2 separate regions of the Homo sapiens genome follow, and region 2 is linked to region 1. Evidence: promoter capture Hi-C in 16 types of primary human blood cells and fetal thymus (Javierre and others, 2016). All regions are on one chromosome and are shown on one strand. The core of a region is centred on a gene start or on the middle of the fragment in contact, and the rest is flanking DNA. Distances in the headings are between cores, read along the strand shown. Region 1 holds the start of PLD1 (phospholipase D1). Region 2 overlaps FNDC3B (fibronectin type III domain containing 3B).

The links. The method cuts DNA at HindIII sites, captures the fragments that hold promoters and counts their contacts. A CHiCAGO score of 5 or more calls a contact.
Region 2: a contact is called between a fragment that was not itself captured here and the fragment with the promoter of PLD1 in region 1, in 3 of 17 cell types (M1 macrophages, neutrophils and M0 macrophages). The highest score is 7.3, in M1 macrophages.

The regions. Positions count from the first base shown.
Region 1 is chr3:171,808,827-171,811,759 of GRCh38, reverse strand. PLD1 (phospholipase D1) reads left to right here and starts at 1,277. Exons shown (of 27, transcript NM_002662.5): 1 at 1,277-1,361. The HindIII fragment of the contact is 4,859 bases long and covers 1-2,933 here.
Region 2 is chr3:172,070,661-172,073,604 of GRCh38, reverse strand. All of the region lies in intron 1 of FNDC3B (fibronectin type III domain containing 3B), which reads right to left. Among named protein-coding and RNA genes, the nearest start is that of FNDC3B, 33 kb to the right of the region's middle. The HindIII fragment of the contact is 1,412 bases long and covers 935-2,346 here.

The DNA of each region.
Region 1 (2,933 bases), core at 28-2,527:
GAGAGGGTATTCTGCCTTCCAGTAACATGCTTGTCTGAAACTTACTAAACTCCTCTTAGGCAATACTCTGCTCAGAGAGTCATGTGTTTAATTGTAAAAATCTGTCAGTATCATAGGATTCAAAAGACATCAATCATTTATGTCAACAAGGAAAGAGTGAGGGCTGTGTGACTCTTCTATCATTAGGAAAAGATGTGCTCAAGAGACAAAAATGTGGTCTAAGGAGGGCTGAGCAACTGTAGGTTACAGGAAAACTGAGTTCCAGACTATAATTTGGCCCCCCTCCCCTAATTTGGACTGGTATATTATATTTTTCATTTCATGCAATGCCATGTGTGCAGTAAGACATTATGTAACTTGGTCAGTCGCAGTTGTGTAATATCCACTAAATGCTTTAAAGTGGCTGACGTTATTAGCAGTTTGGTGCATGGGGAGGCCATTGCTTCCCCTGGCTTTGGCGGGATGCAATATCGTGTAATGAGGTTGGAACTGGCCTATATTCAAAATTACATTCCCAAAGGGCTGCTATTCAAGCCACATGACAACTGGTTCTCTTTTTCTTAAGACTTTATTCTAAGTGGACTGAAAACAGCAAAATTGCCGTGTTTGAACGGTTCCATAGGTGGAATGGGTCTTTTCCCTGTTTTGCTCCCAATTTATTATTTTATGCTAAGATTTCTGAATTATAACCAGTTTTAGAGACATCGGGACACAAATTCCCGTCCCCCTCCATCTAAGCTGTGTGACCTCGGGCTGGTTCTGAGCCTTCATTTCCTTACCTGTAAATTGGCGATAACACTTCCCTAAGGAGGTGCAAGAAGGCTTATAAAGACTCCAGCAAAGCTCCAGTCTCTTAATTATGTCACCTCAGGCAAGTTATTTAGCCGTTTGATTTGCTGATTCCTTACTTATAAGTTGGACCAGTTGTGGCTACTATCCGCAGTAGTCGAAGAATAGATATCATAGGCAAAGCTCCGGGAAAGGTGGCTGGTCCTTGGCGGCTCGAGAGGACCTGATAATGGTCCTAATAGCGAGCATTCCCTAGGGTGATGCGGTCGAGTTATGAAACTTTGGGAAAAGAGAACAAGGAACGCGGGCGATCAGAGGCCCAGTCGCGAGACCTGCCCCGCTGGGGCCTCCAGCCGGCACCGCGACGCCCCGGGACCTGGCACCGCCTCGCTCCACCCCTGCGAATCCGGGGCGAATCCGGGCGGAGAGTTCCTGCCGGCCGCGCAGCGCAGAGCCCCCTCCGGCCCGCCCTCTCTCCCTCCCTCCCGCTGAGCTCCAGCTGTGCCAGAGGCACCCGAGCCCTGAGAGTCCGCCGCCAACGCGCAGGTGCTAGCGGCCCCTTCGCCCTGCAGGTAGGAGCCGCGCCGAGACCCGGATCACCGGGCGCCCGTGGGAGCCGGGTTTCCACTGCCCTCGCCCTCCGTCCCTCCTCCGCCCAACCTGGGCAGCTGGCCGCTCCCCGCCCAACTTGGACGGGATTTCAGCGAGTGAGTCGGCGGCGGACTCCCTAGCGATCCCCAAGGGCCTCCCTCGCACGCCTTCGGGTGGAATTCCTGCAGGGTGAAAGCTGACAACTCTGGCACGCACTTTTGCCGCGCGGGCGGCTGCCTGGAGCGCAGAGCCGCGCAGGCTCAGGCTGAAGCCCAGGCGTCCTCTGCAGGATGCACCGCCTCGCCGCCACAGGGCTTCGGGTGCAGTGTGTGTGGTGTCCCCAGGTCATCCGGGCGCCCTTGGTTCGGGTGCGCGGTGGCATGACTGGGCTGGTGGGGGCGATGGGACCGGCATCCCGTACCAACCAGGAAGTGCCGCGTCCCAAGGCTTCGAGCCCAGCCCGCAGAGCACGGTCCTGGGGGTGTGATCACAGCTGCTGACCGCGGCTCCCGCCGTGTGATGTGACCACTCGGAGGTGGGGCGAGGGGGCCGGGGGCCAGCAGCAGGGAGTGTGTAAAAGGTCTTCTTCCTCACAATACGATTGAAGGTGTTTGGGACGTAGGGCTCAGATCCAGGAGTGCCGTCCTCCAAGCCTTCCATAGGATTTTGTGACGCCCTTGAGAACCGCCCTTGTAGACTCAGTCCTGAACTACCGCCACGCCTGTATTTGCTCCTCCTCATCTCGGATTATTGCTTTCTTTACTTCCTCTGTGAAGCACTAAATACTAGTAGCTTTTTAAGAACAGACCACAACAGTTTCTTCGTTTGACCATTACTAAGTCTGCCTCCAAAATGGGGAGTTCCGTTAACTTTATCAGCCAGCCCTGCCAATTTTAGTTAAGATAAGCCTTCGTGGGCCTCCAAAGGCCTCTGAGAGACTAGGTACCCAGAGACCTCTGAGGTATGTTAAATGGTTTAGTTCGTGGTGGTGCAATGAAAACTTAAAGAAGGAAAGGAATCTGCAATTTGAACTGTTAACAGACCCCACATTTACACACTGCCTATTTGAATAAGAATCTCTTTCAGTATTAAATGTTTTGTGACACACAAATGAATTTGTACACAGTCTTTTAGCTTGAATTTGTAGACAGCCTTTAAATGTTGTTTGGGGATCTTTGGACTAATTGTATAAGCGCTCAGTCTGGCTTCTCAAGAACCAGTACAGTTAACAATCCATATAAAAAGTTGGAGTGCTGCCTGGGCGCGGTGACTCACGCCTGTAATCCCAGCACTTTGGGAGGCTGAGGCGGGCAGATCACCTGAGGTCAGGAGTTTGAGACCAGCCTGGCCAACATGGTGAAACCCCGCCTCTACTAAAAATACAAAAATTAGCCAGGCGTGGTGGCACACGCCTGTAATCCCAGCCACTCGGGAGGCTGAGGCAGGAGAATCGCTTGAACCCGGGAGGCGGAGGTTGCAGTGAGCCGAGATGGAGCCATTGCACGCCAGCCTGGGCGACAGGGCAAGAATCTGTCTCAAAAAAAAAAAAAAAA
Region 2 (2,944 bases), core at 391-2,890, 260 kb before region 1:
CTACCTTTTATTTCACAAATAAACCATAATTGTCTTTTCGAGAAGTCAAATCACTTTCTAGTGATATTTGGTTTCCCCTCCCAAAGGTTGTTTTGCCAACTGAAGAAAGTCAAAGTCCACAGCAACTAAATGATTTACCTAACTTCAGACAGAAGCTGGTACTGCAGCCAGGAACGAAGTGTGTTTCACCTGCTGTCCAATACTTTTTGTCTTAAAATCCCAATCCACTTTCACAGCCAGTCTCTACATTCGAACTGTTACACTTGAGAATTACAAATGGAAAGTGGGCAAACAGGACCTGCTGAAAACACCCCAACCACCATGTTCATTCCCAATGTTGGGAGGAACCTTCTCTCCAAACCTTTCAAAGCAGAGTTCCAGGCCCAGTGTTTAACACAGTAGCTGAGAAATAGCACCTGGCTATAGTACTGCAAGTCCTTCACATAAATGCTAACAATAACAGTTCAATCCCATCAACAAAGAAAATGTCTGTGTTATAACTGCTAAATGAGAGGGCTGCAGACATGTTTAATTATGTCTGCAGGGTGGCTATGGTCCAATACCTGCCACCATCTGGAGGCTTTGCTTGCTTCCATTTCAGAGCCCCACCATGGCTGGTGGAAACAACTACTCCGGCCCTTTTCATCAACACAAAGAAAAAATTAAAATAATTAGACTTAAGTGCCACATAAAGGCTTAGATGAAAGCACATCATAAGAGGCATCAGTGTCACCGTTTATGTGGCCTCAGTGTCATTTGAAATGAAATCTAGCTTCATTACCACTGAGTTTTCTTGATGTATTTTCATAGATGGGAGCTCTGTCAACATCAGGCTGTAGGAGAAAGATAAAGAGTTAAACACTTGCTTCTTAATGGCTGCTTTTGGCCCACAAAGTCCATTTTACTATCTTATCATCACGCCTAATGTTAAGCTTGACCAAGAAGCTGGACTCTTTACAAAGCAAGAACTCATCTACAAGGCTGAAAATCATGCGGGAATGTCAAAGCAGTTTTTGCTTGGCTACAAAGGAATTAACAAGAGGATGCCTCCAGATGCGGTAGACTGTGGATTTCCCAGGTTGGTGATCAAACAGGATTTTGTTGTTAGGCATCACAGTTTTAAACATTCAATTATCCACTTTGTAAAAATTTCACCTTTATTAACATTATTACTATTTCATGACACAACCATTCACTGACAACCCTAACGAGGTCAAGATACTGATAGCCACAAAATGCCAAGATATTGTCATTACCCCAGGAAACGCAAACTACAAATTCTCCCAGGTCTCTCAAACTCTATAGCCTCTCTGTCCAGTACTAGAACCACTAGCTACATGTAACTATTTAAATTTAAATTACTTAAAATTAAATAAAACCTTGAATTCTATTTCTCAGTCACACTAGCCACATTTGAGTAATCAACAGCCACATGTGACTAATGGGCATACGCATACTAGATAACGCGGGTATTTCCATAATTTCAACAATTCTATTGGACAGCACTGCTGTAAAATGCCGTATTTTCATTGAAGAAAATGAAGGATGAGTTTCCGACATATGAACTACTAGTATTTAACCAAAGGAGGCACTCCAGCAGAGTTGTTAAGGGCCAGTACTCATGAACTCAACTGTTACAATTCTGACCCTGGCTTGACCACTTAGCACTGGGATTGGAGCCAGTTACTTCACTCTCCATGTCTCAGTTTCTATCTGTAAAACAAGGATAAATACAACATCTATCCTCGTAAGACCATGGTAATGAGAAAATGACTTCATACGGAAGTGCTCGCTATGTTAATTTTCACTGTCATTATTACTAAGCCCTACAATATGCTTCAAAGCCCCCAAAAATGTGCATACCCTTTTTTAGCTAATAAGTATTTTGTTCCTTTGAATGTGTGTGACAACCAGCCTCCATGCTGTCTTGAGGTATTTGAGAGAAAAACTAAGATTCACTAGCCACAATCTGACTTATAAATCTGACCACCTTTCATAAGACTCTTCACAGAGAATAAAAAAAAATTAATTCTGATTTTATTTCACTATTTTTAACAAAATAAAAATTTTAGTGAATCAATTAATGGACTATATACACATATAAACCAGGTTAGTTTTTCCAAGTCAGGCTAAATTCATACCATTAAGGTGTATAAATATATATATACCTAAAGATCCATGAGCCCATAAAACCATTTACTTATTCTATAAATCCTTAAGACTTTGCCTTAATAATCACCTGCAATTAGCAAATACTTTGCTTGAATGGAAACCTGCTATTAAAGTTATATCCAACTCAATGAAAATTCCAAATTAGTTGAGTCTAAACTAACGATTGAGTAAGCTTAGGGTATACTATATTTAGCCTATTTGAAATAGCTGGGAAATATAATGACTGAAAACACATAAAACTGAAGAACAGTGTGTTTCTACACAATAGTTTTAAAGTTTATGAAGTGTCTTATTTTTTAATTGAATAATTAAGTCTGAAAAATAGACTAATTTTTAGCACTATCAAAACACGCATTTGTTACTGTGAATAATTTTTTCCACATATAAGAAAAAAAATTTTGTCAGCCAAAACCAGTAACCTTGAAAAATGCTGATTAGTTAGAAATTGCATAATCCTGACCAATTTTTGCAGCAAAAATGCCTGTATTTTTCCTGAAAACTTTTTGTTTTAAATTAGATGAAAATATATTTCCGAAAGAACTTATCTGAAAAAAATACTGAAATATTGAAGGATGAAATAATATGCCTGAGATTTGCTTCAGAATATTACAGCAAGGAGCAGAGAATGAAAACGGGTAAAGATGAAACAAGACTGGCACGAGCTGATTGATTGTCAAGGCTGGGTAATAAGTCCAGGGGGATCCACTACTATTCTCTACTTTTGTCTATGTTCAAATTTTTTTCATAAATTACAATGTTTTTAAAAAGCTCA